Linked DNA regions of Homo sapiens: region 1 is linked to region 2. Evidence: promoter capture Hi-C in 16 types of primary human blood cells and fetal thymus (Javierre and others, 2016). All regions are on one chromosome and are shown on one strand. Each heading gives the region's core, a stretch centred on a gene start or on the middle of the fragment in contact. The rest is flanking DNA. Distances are from core to core; before and after follow the strand shown.

Region 1 (6,621 bases), core at 1,291-3,790, 370 kb before region 2:
GGAATAATAGACCAAAAAAAAAAAAAAGAAAAAAGAAATGGACAGTGTTGATATGACGGATAATAATAATAATAGAAAATATAAAAGAAAAAGAAGCTCCAGGACGCTGAACATGTGCATCAGAAGAAATTTAGAAAATGACAAGTGAGCTTATAATGACTTTTAGAAATGCCTTAAATCGCTGGGATTATTTGACATTTGGTTCCTTGCAGAGGAAAGGTGAGCATTGTGGTTAATGAAGGGTGACTCAGAGTCAACTTCCTACTTTTTCTAGCAAGGAGGAACTGATGATCAAAAATACATGTCTGTATAAATATATGTATAAATTATATATAAAATACATGTCTGTATAAATATACACACACACATATATACACACACACACATATACACACACACACACATATACATGTAAAATACCTATATAGCTTTCTCGCAGGATATAGACTGTATACAATTAGTGGTTCATTGCAAACTCTAAATGCATAGTAAGCATAATTATAATGCTATCATGTTTCCCATATTGAGTTATTTGGGGGATAAACTTTTTACTTAATGTCTTACTTATGAAACCCCAATAAAATATCTGTGGCATGTATCCTTTTGATCACTCTACAAGTCTTCCAGAAGGTATATTATCCCTGACTGGATCAGCCTGTGTGCTACACACTCAGCAGAGAGAAAAGAAGAGTTATGAATAAAAGTGGTTACATTATTCTTGCACACAATTAGCTCATAATTATCCTTCAAAGCAAATATGATTACCCTTTTCATTCCACACATAATTCTTATGTTGAATATCGCCAAATTGGGACTTTGAATTCCATTTCAAGGCTTCCCTTGATGCTAATTTTAACCTGAATTCATTTAGATAAAAATGTCCGTGGGACAAGAAAGGGACATGCAGCATGATTTGCCCTGAACATCACTCTTCTAGAAAAGAAATAATACCAGTACCCAAGGACATTATACTGGTTAGGATAGGCTAAGTTATGTTGCAGTAACAAATAATCCTAAGACATCAGTGCCTTAATATAACAAAAGTTTATTTCTCACATTTTATATGACAAATTTTTCATTCACACATCCTTCCTTAATCACTGCAGCAAGAGGAAGGGGATGGGTCAAATTATGAACTATTTTTTAAAGCTTCTGTCCAGAGGTCATCCAATCCTTTCTATTTCATTAACTGAATCAAGTCATGCCCACCTAACTTTGAAATGGGTAAGGAAGTGTAATCCTACAATACACCTGAAAAGAGAGAAGAACTGTAATATTTATGAACAATTCTGGGGGTTATTATAGGTATAATCCTTTGTGAGAGAAATTTTCTCTTTAGATTATTTCAGAGTATAAGTTAATAGCTACCAGCCAATGAGATGAGCTGCTTGACTCACGTCTTTACTCATGACTCAAGAGGACACACGCATGACTTAGAAGTACAAAGATGAAAAGATTATCCTTTTTCTCAAGAATCTTGCAGGCCAGTGATGAGGAAAGAGGTAATGATATGCATGTGAGGAGAGGCAATGTCTCAAAATAATTTCTGAGTTGGAGGGAAGCACCAGAAGCAATGGGATTATGGGAAAGAGGAAAGACTTAAGAGATATAGAGAGGATAGAACTTAAAGCACTTGATGACCAATTAGTTACTGGGCACAATACAAAAGTCTTTGATGCTTCCTAGACTTCTGATTTGGTTAATTGTAAAGACATTAGTATATTATTCAAGAAAGGAATGGCAGAGTCAAGGACAATCTTGAGCAATAGAAAGGAAAATATAGGAATTTAATTTTATCCAAGTCCTTAAGTACTGATGGGCGGATTTAAACAGTGGCGTCCAGTAGATGTCTAAAAGCACAGAGGTCTGGGCTAACAGCTATTTATGTTTAGTTGAACAACTATTTATTGAGTGACCACTGTATGAAGTACTTTGCAAGGTGCTTTGGCTACAAAGTTAGATAAAATATAACCCATGCCACTGAAGAATTACGTTTAGTGGAAGTACAACAGATATCAATCAGGTAATGATCCTGCAAGGTGTCCTCTATTATAAGATGCGCAGGGTAGTCTGGGAGACCAGTAGAGAGGCCTCTAACTGAGCTTAGAAGGGTGATTGTCTTTATTATTCAAGGATGTTTTCTTTTTTCCTTTTTTTTTTTTTTTTTTTTTTTTTTTGAGATGGAGTCTCGCTCTGTCACCCAGGCTGGAGTGCAGTGGCGCGATCTCGGCTCACTGCAAGCTCTGCCTCCTGGGTTCAAGCCATTCTCCTGCCTCAGCCTCCCGAGTAGCTGGGACTACAGGTGCCCACCACCACGCCTGGCTAGTTTTTTTTTTTTTATTTTTAGTAGAGACAGGGTCTCACTGTGTTAGCCAGGATGGGCTCAGTCTCCTGACCTCGTGATCTGCCCGCCTCAGTCTCCCAAAGAGCTGGGATTACAGGCATGAGCCACCATGCCCGGTCTATTCAAAGATGTTTTCTTAAAGGTGATTTCTGAGCTGAGTGTGGAAAGTTGGATAGAAGATCTTTGGATACTATAAAGTATGGTAATTTGCAGTTTCTGGAGTTATAATGTCTGGTTTAGGTTTTGGGCTTATTATTTTCTTTTGTAAGTCACTTAAACTTTTCTGTTCCTTGGTTTTCTCATCTCTAAAATGGTGATTATAGTAGTTCTACAATACCTATCTCAACGTAGTTCTGAGGATTAAATGCAAGGGTCCCTATCAAGACAAAGCTATTGCTAGACATAGTAAGTGCTCAATAAACATCAACTATTATAATTATTATTTGTAGAGGCAGGATGGGGGAAGACTATTACAGACAACAGATATAAAACAAATGTTTATGAAATCATAACCACAGGGTTATTTTGGATAATTATAAGTAGTTTACTACTGTTAGAGTTTAAAACGTGAGGCAGGGAGTGGCAAGAAAGGAGCCTGGAAGGACTGCCAGAGAGGAAATAACACAGAGCTAGGAATTATTTCATAGAGAGTAGCAGCTAATTATAAGTTTGAAGAAAATAATAGATAATCATATTTCTATTGCTAAGAACTCTACATAGGAACTGTTTGGAATTGTAGGGGAAAAAGAAAGGAAGCTCATAGTAGGGGTATATTGCAATTTTGTAGGTCAGAAATGGATTAAGATTGAATTAAACAATAAGAGTACAACAGACAGAAACAGTGACTTGAGAAATACTTAGGAAGTAAAACCAGCAAATCTATGTGACAAGATAGGGCCAGGGTAAGAAAGAGGGATGATTTTATCAAGTTTTTTCCTAGGGTCTCAGGAGCATGATAGTACCACAAACTGTGTATTTTATAATGCAAAAAGAGAATCAGGTTTAGGGGTGTTAGTGGTGTATTTTTAAGACTTTTAAGTGGAAATACTCAAATGAGGATTTGAAAATTTTTAGACCTACAGATAAATAATTTAAATGTCAATAGCATATAGCCTTTAAGCCAAATTAGGAGAGTAAGTAATATTCAGGAGATTGTGTTGAAAAGGAAGACCAGTAGGCTGATGATAAAACTCTGGTGAACACCAACAATTAATGGGTGGGGAAAGCAAGAGGAACCCATATGGGAAATGTAGAAAAATGGCCAAAAGGATTTTCATTTCTTAAAAAGAAAATTTTGTTTACATGGGAGCTAAGGGAGTAGCCATTCACTAATTTAAATAATAAACGTATTGAACATCTAATTCTACCCAGTACTGTGGCCACCAGAAACATATTCAGAAAAGAATATTAATAATGTGAACTAAAAATTGTCCATTGCCTTTAGCCATAAAGAGTTTCACTGACCAACTGAATTAGAGCAACTTCTGTGGATTGTTGGAAGCAAAAGCATAAAAGCCATAGTATAAAGAATGAATGGTAGGTATAGAGAAAAAGATAGTAGGAGTAGATAAGTTGTGTATAAGCTTACATATGAAAATATGTAGTAAAATGAGAAGAAATCAATGACAAAAATGAGATCTTGGTGGAAGAAGAAAAAACAGTGAGGAGGACAGAGAAGGATCTACCAGATTCAGATTGAAAATGTGAGAGGAGTTGCACAGTAGAAGGCAAATTGTGAGAATTTAAAAAAATAAGTTATAAGATTTATTTCAGATAGTTGCAATATTTTTTACTTATGATTTCTATTTCTCTATTGATAACTTTCATATTTCTACTCAAGAATGTTTGCCTTTATCTGATGGAACATACTTATAATAGATGCTTTAAAGTCTTTGATAATTCTAACATCTGGATCATCTCAAGATTGGCACTTATTGATAATCTTTCCCTTTGGAATTTGTCACAATTTTTGAGTACTTTGTAAATTGAATACTTTTGTATTGCAACCTAGACATTTTAAATATGTTGTTTACATTCTAGGTTCTATTAAAATCCTCAGGAAAATATACTTTTTTTTTTTTTTTTTTGGTGGTTGTGGTGGTTTGCTTGGCATTCACCAAGTTAGGTTCAGATTGCAATTTCTGTCTCACTTTATGGAAATGATTGTTCCAATGTCAGTTCAATTAGCGAAGCCTTTGATATGCCATTTGGGGTCCACTGTGAGCATGTACCACTCAGAGGTTAGTGTAAGACCTAGGTGATATTTTAAAATTGAGGTTCCACTATCAAAACTTTTGCTGTGCACTTTTGGATCTATCCTGCACAAGTACACTTCGAGAGTAAACCCAGAAGCTAAACTTGTTTATTCGCAGAATTAGGGGACTCCTTTCTCCAAATCTCTCATCTCCAGGATTTCCCCCACACTTTTCAGTTGGAAGGGACCTCTTTCCCTGATCTTCAGGCCAAAAATATGGAATTTAACTTGGGGCTAAATTCCTTGCTGCCTTTGCATACTGAATAACTCCAATGATTGTGGCCATCTCAGGCAAGAACAAAGACAGAAAATGGGACTCATCCTAATACTCTCCTGATTGAAGAGTCCCCTATAACCTATTCATCAAGCCAGAAGGATATGGTTTCTATTGGAGTGTAAGCTTTATAGCACTGCCCACAATATGGACACCACTGGAAGTATCATTTCCACTCTTATCAAGCCATGAGAGAAAAAAATAAAGGATGATTCCCCTCATGTTCTCTTGCTCATAGAGGCCTATATCTTAGCCTTCTAGAGATAAAGACAGAATTATCTCAACATGTTAGATGCCCATAGTGATGTTGTGTCAGGTTCACTGGAAGCCTGTCTTGGCTCAAGTCCATGATAGAAAAAAGAGAAAATAAAAGGGAAATTAACTTACATATAAATCATTTTTAAATGCCTTGACATCCTTCCCCAATGTACCTGCTTTTGTTTATTTTTCAGAGTCCTCAAGTAGTTGCTTTTTGTACTTTGAATAAAGACTTTAGTCATAGTAGGAGAGATAGACTGTAATGGACTTACTTCACGATGGCTGCACCAGAGGTTCCAAGAACGAGTAAGTTTTGGGGTACTAGGAGAAACCCCAAGTGAAATGTAAAGCCTGAAAATTATTTACTGGACATGGCTGTGAGGAAACCATTTGAGACTTACACATATTTAGTGGGGCATAGGGCCAGAAACTGCAGTGGGGTGAGGAGTGAATAGGGAGTGGAAAAGTGGGGATGGGTGTGGACTATTAAGTTTGGTTGTGGAGGAAAGTTAGAAAAAGGGCAATAATCGGGGGGATGAAGATTGAGAAACATTTAAAAGTAAAGAGGATAGAATGTGTGCCCAAAGATAAAGGTCAGTTGGTAGATTTGCTGGTGGTAAGATGAGCTAGTTCTCTTTGATTTTCTATTTTTCTCTGTGACATAATATGTGAATTATTAGCTGAGAATCAAAAGAAGAGGAGTTGAAGGCTCAAAAAGAGAAATGTACAAAATTATCTTGATAAGAAAGAAAGTTAACATTCCAGTGAAAGATTGTAAGATTGAGAAGCAGTGTTGGGGGGAGCCACTTTTATGTAGTTTTAACCTGAAAATCAATTTCATCCAATCTTCTAGCTCAATACTTTCTTGTCTTCTTGTCCTCTAGTGGCTTTCAACTTCAACCCACATCTAAAACACACCACTGTAGCCACACCCTACACCCTGTGGTTATCCAGTTGTGAGTCCTATTGGAGAGATGAGGTACGTCCACTGGGGAAAACCTAAGGATGAGAGGTACAGAGGTTAGATGAAAACATGAAGATACTATCCTCAAGGTTATTCAGAGAGTCATAGAGAAAAGAAGAAAGCGATAGTTAATAAGGAGACTTAGGTTCCTTAGAAGGAAATTAACCAGCCATCAAACTGATGATGTTTAGATTGGAAACACAAATGGATGATGAGTTAACCAACAGAACTAAATCAGATCAGGAGTATAAAACTGAGGAGTGAGGAGGGAAGCCTGACAAGTGAGGAGGTACAAAATGGCCACCCATGGGCATCTAGTTGATCATTATTTCTACATAAGCTACTGTACAACTCACAGAGTGAGGATGGATGCTTACAAATAACAGACTGGAATGAGCAACTCAGAATTGCTGCACCTCTAAAATCAAATCACAATACTCCATGCTCTGCCTATAACCTACTATCCTTTGCTATTATTGTGTTTGCTATTCATCTGCATCAATTCTTTTAATTCTATGAATTTTGTT
Region 2 (6,319 bases), core at 3,786-6,285:
GGGCCCAGGCGGGGCGGGGACGTCTCTGCTCCTCCTGGGACCTAAATCACAGGAGTCCTTGGCCACGTTCAGCCATAAGACATTATTCACTTGGGCTGCGAAACTCCTGGCAACTATTAGGCAGGGGAGGCCCAGCCCCTGTTGGGACAGAGACGTAGTAGTCATGTGTCACCCGTAGGGCTTTCACAAGGTAGGTGGGTTTCATGTCCACGGAGAGATCAGGGTGGAGATATGTACATAGGTCTATATCTATAGATATAACGCCAAGAGTGACAATAGTCAGCAGTGAACTTTCCTGGGACGCATCATCTGGGTCTCTAGGTCATCAACGACATCTCAAGGTGGTCTGGTTAACGTCCAGGAAAATGTCCCCAAGGGAAGTTGCATTTAAATTAAACGACCAGACGAAAGAAAACTATATTTCCCACCAGTTTCCTTGAGAACCTCCTCTGCCGGTCCCAGCTGGAGCCCAGTCTGAATGCCTTAGAAGCAGAGATGACGACGGGCCCCAGTACCGCCAACCACTCCGGGCCTTAGGGACCAGAGGAGGAGAGAGGCCGAGGGAGCTCCGCAGTGCCAAGCAGAAAGGGAGGACGACGGTCTCCGGGAAATCTCCGAGCCTAAGCGACCCGGAACGTGGCCCGGAGAACTCCAACCTCAGCTCTGGGCTGGGTCCCGCGGGCCTCGGAGGGCAGGCCACTGCCCGGGATGGCCCCCAGTGAGGCCAGCGAGGAGCCCAGTAGCTATCGCCTGGGAGGTAGCGGACCAAGATGCGCGACACTGGGATCAAAGCAGCTCAGGCATGACCCTGGGAAGGCGGCCCAGAGGGGAAGCGAAAGTTCCACCGTCCTTTCTCCATTCCTTCCTCCATTCCACCCTTCAGTGTCAGAGCCCAGGGCGCCGGGACAGCCCAAGGGCAGCCCCTGTTCTGAGACCCGAAGATCTTACCCATATCCTGCTCCCCTGCTGTCTGCCCTTTCACATGTGCTTAAAACAACCTAAGTGGCCTCTAAAGCCAGCCGACCCTGGGCCCTGGGGGCTTCTCCTGCATGCAGGGCGCTGGCTGCGTGGTGAAATGTGCCTCCTTTCAAACTAAACAATTGCCTACGCACAATGTAGCTCCCCGAGTCTGCGAGAAACACAGCTCCGGCTTCGGCCACCAGAACCCAAGGTGGCCGGGCCTGCAAGTGGGGCCCGGTTTCCAGAAGGAGCGAGGGGCCCGGCCCCCCTCCCCTGTATACCCACTACCGCCACGCACTTATGTCGAAGTCCCTCAGACCCGATCCTGAGTCCCTAAACCCCAACAGACAACTCGGGTTCAACCCCTCGGAGGTGAGAAGGTGGGGCGAGTAGTGGCTGCGGAGTCAAATACTAACTTTCTCCGCACCCGGTCGGAAGGAGGATGTCAGTGCCCAGGTGGGCAGCAGCTATCAGGCGCGCTCTCCAAAAGTGGAGGATGGGAAGTTGGCGGTTCAGGTCAAAGGTGAGGAGCGTTCACCCCAGACAGTGCGGATCCTGGCACAAAACCTCTCCCGCCAGTCCTCACGCCAACCAACGAAGGTCTGCTCCCTTAGGTCGGGAAAAGGGCGCTGCCAAAGGAAACGGGAAGTGAGGCCTGCCAAAGGAGGAGGAGAAAATTAATTAATGAGGGAAAGAAATGTGTCTCTGATCCACATGATAGACTCCCTGTCCCTGGGGGCGGAAATTCCTTGGAAATCAATAGTTGTGCATTCATTATCCTTCTCTTGATAAAATGCAAAGCTATGAGATGAGGAGGAGGAGGAGATCTGTGTTGGTCATTAAATAAGAAGGAAAAAAAATTGCCCAGGAATCTATGCCAAGGCTCAGACCCCATGTGGGTATCATTAGCACAGGCAGGGGCCAACGAGTTACAGCAGTTGCCAAACCAGGAAAACAAAACAGTGACATATGGGTGAGCTGAGCCCAAGCCCACCACCTTTTCCTTTTACGCATCAGGAGGAAAGTAGGGAGAGGCTTGATATGGTCCAGGGAACTGCCTGCAGATGTGCCAGCATGCCCTATTCTTTAGCCTGGGCTGAGAACCAACGAGGATGAGGCATGATAACTGTCCAAGCATCACCCGCTCCATATTTCTATACACATCCCTCTCATCACACCTGTTATACCTGTGTCATAGATGCCTTTTATCCGTGGCTTCCCCACGCACATACACTGTCACCTCCTGCAGGGCAGGTACTCATATTGTATACCTCATTTTATCTCCAGTGTCTTGTACTGGGCCAGACTACCGCTCAGCAAGAATTTGAGGAAGGAAGATAAGGTAGCAAGTTAATGAGGGCGGAGTGAAATAATTGGCTCCTGAAAAAGAACAGGCTGGAATAAAAATTTACAGCTCTGCCTGGGGAAAACACACCCCTCCTTTTTAAGGAGAATGTAGACCCCCCCATCCCCCCACCCAGGGATCTTCCTGCAATCTCCAACCAGCCCTGGATTGTTGAACAGCCCCTAGGCCACCACCCCTCCCCCAGGCTACCCGAAACTGGCCTCTCTTCCTTCCTACACACGTGTTTTTTGGTGGGGTACTTTTCCTGTGACAAACTCTGCACTAAGTGCTATAGTGAAGATGGATGTATCCTAGATGGGCTTCCTATCCATGGTGGGAGGGGGAGGGAGGATTGTACCCATAGCCCTCATGTTTCTGGTCCCATCAAAACACCCAATACCCCAAGCAAAGATCTGGCCTCACCCCAAGGTGGGGTATTCCTGTTGTCGAAAGAGAGGTGAACAGGGAAGGAAATCTTGGTGGGACTAACTCCTAACTTCAGGCTAAGGTGGCATCTCTCCGCTGGGTTTAATGGAAGCCTCCCAGGGTTGGAGGGTGAACCGAGGTGCCTTTTGGGTACTCAGGAGCTCACCTGGCTCTCAGAGGCCCCACCCGGCCGCAAACCTGTACTGTTTACCTTTCTGTTGCTCCTGTACCCTTCAGGGTCCCTAAAGACCAGCGCTTCCTTGAGAGGGGAGGGGCAGGTTCCAGGCCCTCACCCTCTGTGGGGGCCTTTTCTTTCCCGTCAAGAGAGAGCGCAGGGAACGGCCACCAGGGGTGTCAGGAAGGACTAGGTTAAGCCCGGACTCCCGGTGTGATGACTACCGTAGGACTCACTCTTTCCCTCTAGCGACGTCCTGCTCATCGTCCACTCCCCGTTGAGATAAAGTTGCATTTAGCGCTCCCAGGGGACTGCGTAATGGATGGAACCAGCTCCTTCTCTCACCAGCAAGTGAACATCCTTCTCACTTCCCTCTGGAGCTAGAAGGAAGGGAGGGGGTGGGGGGGAACATGAAAAGAAAGAAAGAAAAAGCCATGGTGACGCCTGTGGGCTCTTCTTGGAATCTGAGTAGGTGAGTGGGTATGCTAAACACACATGCATTTGTGCAGAGGAAAGATAAAATCCACGGGAACGCAAATTTAGGTTTATAGAAATGAGATCTGCTCTTTGGTGGAAATACAGACTTCCTTGGTGTGGGAGAGAACAGAAAGATTATCTGATTTCTGCTTTCCATAAGCAGCCCCTTGCTGCTCTCCAGCTCTCTTACCGCAGATGTGATAACATCTGGGCTGTTAGGTTATTATCACCGCGAGCAAGTGCTCCTTCCCTGGGGACTTTGGCACCTGAACTGTGGCTCCCCTGGGAGGCTCTTGATCTGCTACCACATAAGGGCCATATAACAGGTTGGCTAATTGATTTATTCTTTTTAGGTCTTAATTTCACAATAATTTTTTAAAAATTTAAAAACTGGACCAGAGCTTGTCCCCGTTCTTTCAAATTGGCTTGATTTAATATTTTTGAATCAAGCTTTCCTGTAAGTTAGTTTGATCTGTCTCCTATTGAAAAAAATATATATAAGCAGGCAGAGATATGAGGCAAAAAGCCAAAAAGATGGAAGGGAAAAGAAAGTTCTCTTTTCAACATCTTATTCCCTTTTCTCTGAAGCAGTTTTCCTGGAGTTCCCAGCATAAAGTGTGTGTGTGTGTGTGTGTGTGTGTGTGTGTGTGTGTACGCTGAGGGGAGGAAGGATCCCAACTACACCCTGTTAACTGTTTTTTCCTTTTGATTACTAGAAGCCTTAGATCACCCGGAGCTCGTTTGAAACGTGGGTTTGTACACGGTTGAAGGAGACAAACAATAAGAGAAATGCACAATTTCATTTCAACAGCTTTTCCCGAGTAGAAAGCACACGCTCCTTGTGGCTCCTAAGTGGCTGTCACTGGCGGTGCCTGACACAGTTATATTCACAACAACAACAAAAAAGTATGCGGAGGAAATTAAATTATATGGAAATCAATAGCGTCTGACTGCTTCAAACAAATGTCTGTCACCGCGATTATTCTCCAGGAACCTATTTATAAACCTTTAAAGAAACAGGTTCTTGCAGCAAAAGACAGCACCTTCTGCATTTCTGTGTTGTTATTTATACTGTATACAGAGGAATGCGCGGGCATAATTTAACGTAGAAATGTCCAGCTGTATACATTATACAACAGCTTGTTAGGCATCCCGAAGAGGAGGAATGCCTAAGTAATGCTCATATATTCAAGGCTTGCTATCAGGGAGAAGAAACATACACACATACACACACACGCACGCACACACACACACACACACACACATAGAGGGGCGTGCGCGCATCTCGTCTTTTTTATTCTAAAAGGTGCCCACCCTTAGACAATAGCTGGACCTTCTGATCTTTCCAGACCACGGTGGGAAAGGTGAGGCGGGCAGTGCGCATGCCCGGGTAGCTACAGGTGCATCACCTGCGCTGTCCTTGCTGGTGGTCACTATAAGAGCGGCTCCCACGCGCTGGTCGCGGCCGGACGAGCGCGCGCGCGCGCAGACGCACGGGGCCGCCGAGAAGGAGAGCGCGCGTCAGACAGACGGAGACAGCTGATGCCTGTCAGCGCGGTGGGGCCGCGAGCTCTCGCGAGAGCTCCCCGGGACGGCCGCGAGAAGTGGGGCTCAGGTGTTAGAGGAGTGCATCCCGTCGGCGCGCGGGGCTAGAGCTGTCGGAGAAGCGGGACCGCGAGGCCGGCGCGCGGCGCTCTGCGCGGTCAGAGGGAGCGCCTGGCAGCAGCAGGAGCAGCAGCAGCAGCCCGCGGCGGGGCCGCCGCCAGCCGCCGCGACCGCCGCGGCTGCAGCCTCCGAAGGGAGGCCGGGTGAGCCGGCGTACGCACTTTCCCGCGGACTTTCGGAGTGTTTGTGGATATACATGCCAAGCCGCCACGATGATGTCCATGAACAGCAAGCAGCCTCACTTTGCCATGCATCCCACCCTCCCTGAGCACAAGTACCCGTCGCTGCACTCCAGCTCCGAGGCCATCCGGCGGGCCTGCCTGCCCACGCCGCCGGTAAGCGCCCCACGCCCGCGGCCCCGGCCCGCGCGCCCGCCCCTCCCCGTCTCCGAAACGCTGCATGTCGGGGGCTGGTGTGTGCAGGTCCCGGTGCGGGGAACTGCGGGCAGGGGGTGTAGAGCAGTCCCGCAGCGAGGCACGTTTTGTCCGGCGGCCCTTAATGTCGTGTTCCTGTCTGCCTCTGCCTCCGCGTCAGGCGCCTGCGATCGGAGTAGGGAGCGCTGGGGCCAGGACTCTCGACTTCCCTCTACTTTCTCTGTTAATTTCACGCCTCAGAAAGGCAGTCTCTGTGCGTGCTCGGGTGTGTGACACGGGTCCCCAGCTGCGAGTTACATTTCCATTTCTTCTTTTCCCTCTTTTTCGTCTCCCACGCCCGTTTCCGGAATGTGTTCTTGTGTCCCCCTTTCTCCCTACTTCTGTCCCCCTCTCCACGCTCCCATCCCTTCTCGTCTGCCCCCTCCCTGGTCGTCAATGTGCCCCCTCTCCGTCTTTCCCGCTCTCCACTGCCCCCAAACCCGTTGTTATTTTGGTTGCTTTGTGTTTGCCCTTCGCATGCTGTGCTTTCCGGCCTGTGTGTGTGTTTCTTCTGTTGTTTTGTTTTGCTCTTTTGGTTTTGTGGTTTTTTTGGTTTGGTTTGTGTCGCCTGCAGCTGCAGAGCAACCTCTTCGCCAGCCTGGACGAGACGCTGCTGGCGCGGGCCGAGGCGCTGGCGGCCGTGGACATCGCCGTGTCCCAGGGCAAGAGCCATCCTTTCAAGCCGGACGCCACGTACCACACGATGAACAGCGTGCCGTGCACGTCCACTTCCACGGTGCCTCTGGCGCACCACCACCACCACCACCACCACCACCAGGCGCTCGAACCCGGCGATCTGCTGGACCACATCTCCTCGCCGTCGCTCGCGCTCATGGCCGGCGCGGGCGGCGCGGGCGC

What was found. The method cuts DNA at HindIII sites, captures the fragments that hold promoters and counts their contacts. A CHiCAGO score of 5 or more calls a contact.
Region 1: a contact is called between a fragment that was not itself captured here and the fragment with the promoter of POU4F1 in region 2, in 1 of 17 cell types (M2 macrophages). The highest score is 5.9, in M2 macrophages.

What each region holds. Positions count from the first base shown.
Region 1 is chr13:78,965,426-78,972,046 of GRCh38, reverse strand. LOC105370273 (a long non-coding RNA gene) reads left to right here. Exons shown (of 5, transcript XR_942108.4): 3 at 5,325-5,436; 4 at 6,015-6,109. Among named protein-coding and RNA genes, the nearest start is that of LINC00331, 130 kb to the right of the region's middle. The HindIII fragment of the contact is 2,778 bases long and covers 1,152-3,929 here.
Region 2 is chr13:78,602,268-78,608,586 of GRCh38, reverse strand. POU4F1 (POU class 4 homeobox 1) reads left to right here and starts at 5,035. Exons shown (of 2, transcript NM_006237.4): 1 at 5,035-5,383; 2 at 6,036-6,319. The coding sequence starts at 5,261. OBI1-AS1 (OBI1 antisense RNA 1) reads right to left here. Exons shown (of 6, transcript NR_047001.1): 4 at 3,143-3,286; 5 at 1,377-1,615. RefSeq lists enhancers at 246-1,105, 1,106-1,967 and a silencer at 5,085-5,244. The HindIII fragment of the contact is 4,390 bases long and covers 3,836-6,319 here.